Linked DNA regions of Homo sapiens: region 2 is linked to region 1. Evidence: promoter capture Hi-C in 16 types of primary human blood cells and fetal thymus (Javierre and others, 2016). All regions are on one chromosome and are shown on one strand. Each heading gives the region's core, a stretch centred on a gene start or on the middle of the fragment in contact. The rest is flanking DNA. Distances are from core to core; before and after follow the strand shown.

Region 1 (4,436 bases), core at 1,006-3,505:
TCTAGCTAACATAATTTAAATCCTCAGTGATCAGCTTGATTCCTTCTTTAAAAATGTATATTAAAAAAAAAAATGGGGCCAGGCGTGGTGGCTCATGCCTGTAATCTCAGCACTTTGGGAGGGTGAGGCAGGCGGATCACTAGGTCAGGAGTTGGAGAACAGCCTGACCAACATGGTGAAACCCCATCTCTACTAAAAATACAAAAATTAGCTGGGCGTGGTGGTGCGCACCTGTAATCCCAGCTACTCAGGAGGCTGAGGCAGGAGAATCACTTGAACCTGGGAGGCAGAGATTGCAGTGAGCCAAGATCGCACCACTGCACTCCAGCCTAGGCAACAGGGCAAAACTCCATCTCAAAACAAACACAAAAAACAAACAAAAAAAACCTTTCAAAAAATAAATCTTCACTTATAATAGATTTAGTCAACTCTTTAAACAAAATCCTTCAATTATGGGCAGAGGAAGGGTTCTCTAGAATACCTTTCAATTTGGTCCTTCTGGTCAATCCTGGAAAGCTGTATACGTAGATGAGAGGTTTTAGCTTCCGGTCAGAAAAAGCCACAACTTCACAGGGGATGTTAGTTGCCATGACGCCCACAATTCCATTACTACACTGCAGTACAGTCTTTTTCTTGGTTTCAATATTAATAAATATTACATAATTCCCACAAGGGTAGCAAATGGTGTTGTCGTTGACAAAATGAACATTCTGCTTAGGGAATCCTTGCACCCATCTTTGGGAAAAGATATGTCAACATCAATATAATACATTTCAAATACTTTTTTTTTTTTAACAAAGCAAAGGGTCATCAAAATCTTTGAAACATTTCTATTTTCATGTCCTTTCTGCCCCCAATTTCTAAGATAAAAGAACACACATGCTGGCTGTGAGATCCATTTGAGTCAATGAATTATAGAAATTTAAATGTAGACCTAAAGTTCCGTAGGTCTCCCAGGCCTTCTTCAGATAACTTTTTCAGCAAAGGAAACTCTCTGACCAAACCTGAGAAAGTCTCAGAAGGACTTCTGGGGTCTTCTATACTTGGAAGACAAAAAGTGAAAATAACAGAGAAAAGAGCTTGATCTCAACACAGTGGCATCCTGGGCCATTCTTTTATAATTAGTTTGATTTTTTTAAATAAACTTTAAAAAACAACTTTGCATAGGACAGCCTGCTTTGTGGTTGTTAGCAGAGTAGGAAAATTGCTTATTTACACAGATGAAGAGTATGTGGCCATATTTTAGATTTAAAAATACAGATAAACGTAGAAAATAAAAGGAATGAAGTCGACGTGAATGAAAGGCTAGCACACAAAAAGAACATACTCTCAAGTAAGGAGTGCGTGCTAGGTGTATGCTAGAAAGGAGAGGAGATGAAGGAGATTCTATTTTTATTTAAATATTAAAGGTATGCTTGAAGATGGTGGAAAAGGCAAGTGAAGGACACTGGTTTGGTGAGAAACCTCGAGACATTAGAGTGTCCAGGACTAGCAGGGGATGCTGTATAGAGTGGAGGTGGGGGCTGGGAGGAACACTCTAGAATGTAGGGGAAAAAATGCCACCTATATCTGCGCAGTGCTTGATGCTTTTCAAAGGCTACTATAAATGCAAATAAATCCAAAGCTAGTGGATAGGAGTTAGAAGGAAAGGATTCAGGGACCTAACTTTGGGGAAAATCACCAAAGGTAGCAAGGACGGGATCCGGGCTGTCGCCAGGTGGAGGGGGAGGGGGATGTGATCAGAAGACCCGGATCACTAGCGGGAATCCTGAGCTAGAAGGAAGAGATGAAGGGTGCAGGGGACGTTGCTGGGTAAGAGACGGAGGGTCAGGGTCGCAGAATAAGGAGTGGGAAAGACAACTGGGGACGGGGTCAAGGAACAAGGGGATGGGGAGCGGACAGGGGAGGTCACACGGGGAGGGAGGCTGAGGGAAGGCACTGGGGGCAGAGGGGAAGAGGTCGAAGCTGCGGGGAAAGCCGCCCTAAGGAACCGGAGGGAGAGGAGGGAGGAGGGGACTTGGGGCAGGAGGTTCCGCGAGACCCAGATCGGTCGCGGGGCCGTGAACACCGCACCTCACGGACAAGGACGCGCCGCCGGCGGAGTGGGGGCCTTCGTCGCGCTCCCGGCCTTGCGCCATGGGCAGTGTTTTCCTCAGGCGGGAGCAGGCAGCGCACGCAGCACCCCAGGGCGGGTCGGTTACCTTTCCGCCGCCGCGGGGCTGCGGGCCGCGACGCCGCTGCTGTGTACACCCGTATCCCGGAGACCGTAAGCCCCGCGCCCATTGGCTCTGCGCTTTGGCCCGCTCCCTTCTGAGCCGAGCAGATTGGTGGAAGGTCTGCCGCTCTCGGCCAATGGGTGAGCGGCAAGCCAAGCGAGGGGCGGGCCCCTTGCTGTTCAAAGTGTGGTCTGTTTACCAGCAACATTGGTGCTACCTGGGAAGCTTGTTATAAATGCAGAAACTTGGCTCCCACACCAGATCTACTCAATCAGAATCTGCATTTTAACAAATTTCCCCAGGTCCGGGCCAATAATTGCAAGTAAGACTCATGCCTACAATCTCCGCGCTTTCGAAGGTCAGAGCGGGAGGATCGCTTGAGGCTAGGAGTTGAAGACCAGCCTGGAAGACATAGCGAAACCTGCCGCGCCCGTGCCGCATCTCTACAAAAAAATTTAAAAAGCAGCCGGGCATGGTGGTGCACGCCTGTAGTCCCAGCTACTTGGGAGACTGAAGTGGGAGGATCGCTTGAGCCCAGGAGTTCAAGGCTGCGGTGAGCTGGGATGACGCCACAGCACTCCAGCCTGGGCGACAGAGCGAGACCTGTCTCTAAATAAATAATTATTTTTAAAAATCAATAAATTTCTAAACAGACTTTCATTTAGAGTGCTGACTGTGCCAAACATTGTTGCAACGTCTTCACATCTCCCATCAGCCCCATTTTACAGATAAGTAACGTGAGGAAAAGAGAAGCACATAATTTGTCCATGGCTACAAAGTTGAGTGGGACTTTATTTATTTATATTATTTATTTATTTATTTTTGAGATAGGGTCTCACTCCGTTGCCCAGGCTGGAGGGCAGTGGCTTGATCTTGGCTCACTGCAACCTCCATCTCCTGGGTTCAAGCGATTCTCCTGCCTCAGCCTCCCAAGTAGCTGAGATTACAGGCACGTGCTACCATGCCCAGCTAATTTTTTGTATTTTTAGTAGAGACGGGTTTTCACCATGATGACCAGGCTGGTTTCAAATTCTTGACCTCAAGTGATTCGCCCGCCTTGGCCTCCCAGAGTGCTGCGATTACAGGCGTGAGCCACCTTGCCCAGCCCTGAGTGGGACTTAAACGCAGGTCTAGCTAATTTAGAGCTCCAAGCCCTTAAGTACCATATAACACTTTGAAATGTACCCTCTTGCTTCCTCAGGGAAGCAGACAGCTCTGGAAGTAACCTGATTGAATGGTCGGCAGCTTGTCATTCCTTCTTCTCTCCCATACCTTCCCTTAGACTCCCTCCCTTACCCTTCTTCCTTTCCCTTCAGTCGTCTTCCCTTCTCTACCCTTCCCTTCCTTTCTTTAGGTCTTTCCTTCCTGTCTTGCTTTCTTCTCTCCATTTCTTTCACAAATATTTACAGAGCATCCCGCATGCATTCATGCATGTGCTAGTCACTTGGAAAAAATAGAAAAACAAATAAAGTTTCTTCCTTCTTGGAACTTAGAGACTGGTGGGATCCAGGGAGTTGGGCTAGATATCCACATGGTCTCAGATGGTCTGTGTAAGTTGTGAAAGGATTTATGAAAGTGATTTTATGCAAGAAATGTTGTACAATTCACGGATTGTTAGGCCTCCTAAATGCTTCATACAATGCCCTATGACTCTTACTGTACAACTTGCCTGCTTAAGTAAGGGTGAGCCCTGTGGACATGTGGAGTTAGCTATGCCCTCTAGCTATGCTAGAGAGTCAGCTGTTATCTGCACTTCTGCCTGTTGTGTCCTAGGCTAGGCTCCACACCTAGTACACAATTAAAATCTCTTACTTACCAAGGTTTTCACCAAAAATAAAAGTTGCAAAAAGTTAACATTATAACATGTAATTAAAACTACTAAAGAAACAGTTTTACATGCAAGGTGTGTAAAGAAAGTAAAATGTGTTTTTGGTGAAAGATTATAAGAAGTAATGGGAATGTGGATTTTTCTCTGCCTACATTTAAGTGTTAAAGGATTGCTTTAAGTAAAAAAAAAAACTAAAGGTTTAAATAAGTTGTGGAAGGTTTATAAAAATTAATTGTAAGAGATTCTGTATGTGAACATACTGGCTAAAGTTACAGGGGTATTATTCAGTTTTTCGATAAATTAAACATTGGAATAAAAGCACAACAGGTTTTTCTTAGAGTTGATCTGCTCTTTCACACACACACACACACACACACAATTGTAAAGGGTTA
Region 2 (4,342 bases), core at 288-2,787, 340 kb before region 1:
TCTGTCGCCCAGGCTGGAGTGCAGTGGCGCGATCTCAGCTCACTGCAAGCTCCACCTCCTGGATTCATGCCATTCTCCTGCCTCAGCCTCCCGAGTAGCTGGGACTACAGGCGCCTGCCACCATGCCCAGCTAATTTTTTGTATTTTTAGTAGAGACAGGGTTTCACCATGTTAGCCAGGATGGTCTCGATCTCCCGACCTCGTGATCCACCCGCCTCGGCCTCTCAAAGTGCTGGGATTACAGGTGTGAGCCACCGTGCCCAGCCTACAGATCCATTTTCAATGTGACAGAAATTTGTCAAGATATTGAAAAGATCAGAGTTCCAAACAAATGTGGCAAAGCTTCCAGAAAAGCATTTGAAGGCCAAGTCCTACCTCTATTGAAAGGTACTTACAAAGCCTATGTGGGGCAGCACCCAGAGGTGCTGAAAAAGAGTGGCTGAGATTTGCTAATGACATTTCCTCAAGGGGAGAGGAAAGAGCCTCCACAGGGTCTCAAGTGTTCACAAGTCCGTCCCAAAGTAACCTTCTCTTTCTAGAAGAGACCTCCCAAACAGGCTTTCTGTTACTCTAATAGATCCTGGTGATGTTTCACAAATGTGTTCTCCTGGGCTAACAATAACAGCCTAACACACTAATTGAATTATCAGTCTAAGTTTTTCCTTAAAAGAACAAGCTGGAGAACCTTGTCATTAGAGCCCCCAAACCGACAAACATTCCAGGTTATGACAGCTTCCATTCAGAAGGGAGAATAAGGCTGAGAAATATTTGACAACTCCCACAGGCAGAAAACCTCTCTGGGTGTGTTTAGAATAAACACCACACCTAGCAATCCTCAGCCACACATCTTTTTATTCACGAGGCTTAGGGCAAAACTGTTTTTAATTTCATACATGAGTGCTCTTAGGGGATGCACCATCAGTGCAACATAGACTCCTTTGCAAACCTTCATAACTACTTAATCTTTATAATTCTAAGGAGATCTATCTTCTTTAGTCAATTTAACATAAGGATCCTAAAGGTTAGGTTTATTACATCTCTTAGCAAGATAGAAATAAATTGGAAACTAACTAGAGATGAGTATTACATGATTATTCCTGTCTTTAAAAATGACTCTTGGTTATCCCCAAACCATATAAAAAGCCTAGTTCCCCCTCCCAGATTTCAGTCAGATCAAGCAGCAGGAAGAGACAATGCTAGGCCTAGGAGATTAAAAACACAGTTTCAGCTGTGAGCAAGGACTCAACAGAAATGGCTCTCTGTAAATATAAACAATACTTGAAGCTTCCTTTCCAAAAACATTTGCCTCAGCTGACCCTGGGACATATTTCCCTGGCCTAGTTATAAAGACCATAGTCTCAAGGGTAAAGCCACTAATCGTCTCTTCCAGCCAGCAGCTTTTCCTGGACTGGGATCTGTGTCTTTCTTGTCTTTTTCAAAAAAGCAATGACAGACTCATCAGATTTAGGAAACCGAAATTGCTCACAGGCAAAAAAAAAAAAAAACCAAACAAACAAAAAAAAACAGTCACTAGCTAAACGTGCTGAGCTTTACCAAGCCTCGCCTCATCTCAGGTCAGGAACTGGGTGGATCCCTGAAATATATATAGTCTTCATTCCCAAACAAACTCAACATTCATCCAGCTGTCAAAGAAACAATGGTTTTGCAGGCCCTGCTTATCATGTTTCTGGATTTGCTAAGAAGGACCACTATGAAAAAAAGGAGGAAACATTCAAGCCTGCTCTCTCTCTGCCTCTAAACTATAACACCATCACAATGATTTTTTCTGTTAAGCTTTCATCTGTATGACAACAGAAAGTGCCAAAGGATCTAGGGTTTCAGTCTCATTGTAAAGCACCTTTAGTCTCCCAGGAATCTATTAAACAGAACTCAGTTTAATCACACTGACCTCCCCAACCAGAGCAATGTGAGGGACTAATTCATAATTGATAGAAAAAAGAGTTTCCAAAGACAAAACAAATATAGTGCCATATTCGATTCTTTTTAAACATATAGCACCAGGCAGACACAAGTTTCTGCTGTAAGCATTTTCAAAAAGATATGCCAAAGGTTCCCCACAGATCATTTTGAATGGAGGAGTCTTTTAGTCCTCAAAGAGTCCTTAAGTCTCTCTCTCTACTTAATTATAGCTATCACGGAAGAGCTGGCTTCATGTGAAAAATATGGTCTTCGCTAAGCTTTAAAGTTTCTATCCAAACATGCTGATAGAATCATCAGAAGTCCTAGGAGGTCAATTTGGCTTTGAGCCGCCTCTAAATGATTAAGTGGGAAGAAGGTCAATCTTGCTGTCAGCCGACAGCTGGAGCGCTGCAACTGTTTAGAAGCAACCTTGGCAAAGAACAAAGCAGCCAGTCGTGACCCTTTCCACTTTGGTGTTTTCTGAAACGATATCCCTCATCTCCTCGTATGAAACCATGGGTCACTGGGCACATCAGGCTGTTGCCCAGAAGAGATAATTAGGAGCACAAACAAAACTGAGAAGCAGTGGTCATGCCCAGGAAGTCAGGATGTGACTCAGTATCTGTTCCACCAAAATCAAGAACTTATGTTACCTAGCAAGGGTGTTCACAGCAGCCTTGTTGGTGATGGCAAGAGATCAGAAAACATCTAAACAGTCCAGGAATGGACAGACTGGTCATATACATGATGGTACATGTGACAAAGACTGTAGGGGCCAACCTATATGTACGGCTAGGAAAGAATCTGTGAGACATACGTCAATGAAAAGTGTGGTGTCTCATAGTATACTACGCCATGCTACCATCTGTGTGAAACAGAAGGGGCTACAGTGACTTAGAGTACACACAAGCACAGACTATCTCCAGAATGATATTCCAGACACTAGTACTGGTGCTTGTCTCAGGGGAAAGGGAGTGAGAGGGAGGATGGGAAAGAAACTGACCTTTACCTTTACACTTTGTGGGACAATTTGAATTTTTAAAAATCATTCATTCCTTCAATCAGCAAATAATGAGTGAGAACCTGCTTTATGCCAGCCCCGTTCTAGGCCCTGGGTAGAGAGCAAAGAATAAGACAGACAAGTCCTCTGCTCTCACAGAACTTAAATTCTGATGGAGGAATAGGCAAGCAAACAAATAAAGACCAGTGACGTCAGATACAAAAACAGGGTGTAAGGGTGAGGGGCCACGTGGCAATCAGAGCAGCTAGACGGCCAGGGAGGGCAAGGAGGGACATTTAAGCTGAGATCATTCCCTGGTGGGATAAAGAAAGTAAATAAATGAGTCACGTTACAACAACAACAAACCTAAGAACTGCAATGAAAGGGAAAGCCTAAAATCAATGTCTCAAATAATTCTTAATTCCAAGCAATACGTCAACACCAAGCAACAAAACAAGTTACCCAAATAAAACTAGGGGTAAAAACATGGAGATAACTTTTTCTTTTTTTTTTGTTGGGACAAGGTCTCACTCCGGGTGACAGTCAGGGGTCAGGGTCACCCAGAGTGAGACCCTGTCTAATTTTTGTATTTTTAGTAGAGACAAGATTTCACCATTTTGGCTAGGCTGGTCTTGAACTCCTGGCCTCAAGTGATCTGCCCACCTTGACCTCCCAAAATGCTGGGATTACAGGCGTGAGCCACTGCGCCTGGCCCCTCGTTACTTAATCTTATTATGCTTAATATTTGAGTAGAAAAAAATAATAATAGTCTAAGGTCCATAGTAGTAGGTTGTTAGTATTCATTGAGATGGATGTTTAATCTCAGCAGAAGCCAAGTGACAGGGAAGTAGATGAGAGGAGGTAATTATCCATCCAAGATGATTTATTCATCAGCAAAATGATTCGCGAACTTGAACCATGGTTTTTAATGACTTGCTCTGTCTTTTTCAGAATAAGATTAACCCATTGTGTTTTAGGAGTTTAAATAAAGACCGAGTTGTATTCAGACTCATTTGTAAGTAAAATTTCAAGGAACACTTAAGTAATTTTTTATTCTTTAATTTTTTATTCCTCTTAGAAAAAGTTATCTTGGTTAGCCAGGCGTGATGGCACATGCCTGTGGTCCCAGTTACTTGTGAGGCCAAGGCAGGAGAAGCACCAGCCTGGGCGACAGAGTGAGACTCTGTCTCCGAAAAAAAAAAGATTAGGTAAGGAGGAAGAAGGGGCAGGTCCAGCCTTATGCCTCATTTCAAGTTCTTAGTAGTCAATGACCTTTCCAGAATAGAAATAATGTGTGACAGAACCATTCCCTCCGTTCCCTGGGTCAACTCTGTGAATCTTCATGCCACAGTCACTTTCACCCACACCTGCAGTTGCAGATCTGGGGCAGGGAACCAGAATTCTCACATGGGCATGCTGCAC

The links. Contacts are between HindIII fragments. The CHiCAGO score rates a contact against its expected background, and 5 or more counts as called.
Region 2: a fragment that was not itself captured here is called in contact with the fragment with the promoter of CFAP43 in region 1 in 2 of 17 cell types (activated CD4 T cells and fetal thymus); the score reaches 6.1 in activated CD4 T cells.

What each region holds. Positions count from the first base shown.
Region 1 is chr10:104,230,109-104,234,544 of GRCh38, forward strand. CFAP43 (cilia and flagella associated protein 43) reads right to left here and starts at 2,256. Exons shown (of 38, transcript NM_025145.7): 1 at 2,074-2,256; 2 at 482-735. The coding sequence starts at 2,138. RefSeq lists an enhancer at 2,083-2,377. The HindIII fragment of the contact is 2,497 bases long and covers 1-2,439 here.
Region 2 is chr10:103,893,202-103,897,543 of GRCh38, forward strand. All of the region lies in intron 7 of STN1 (STN1 subunit of CST complex), which reads right to left. Among named protein-coding and RNA genes, the nearest start is that of STN1, 23 kb to the right of the region's middle. The HindIII fragment of the contact is 510 bases long and covers 1,283-1,792 here.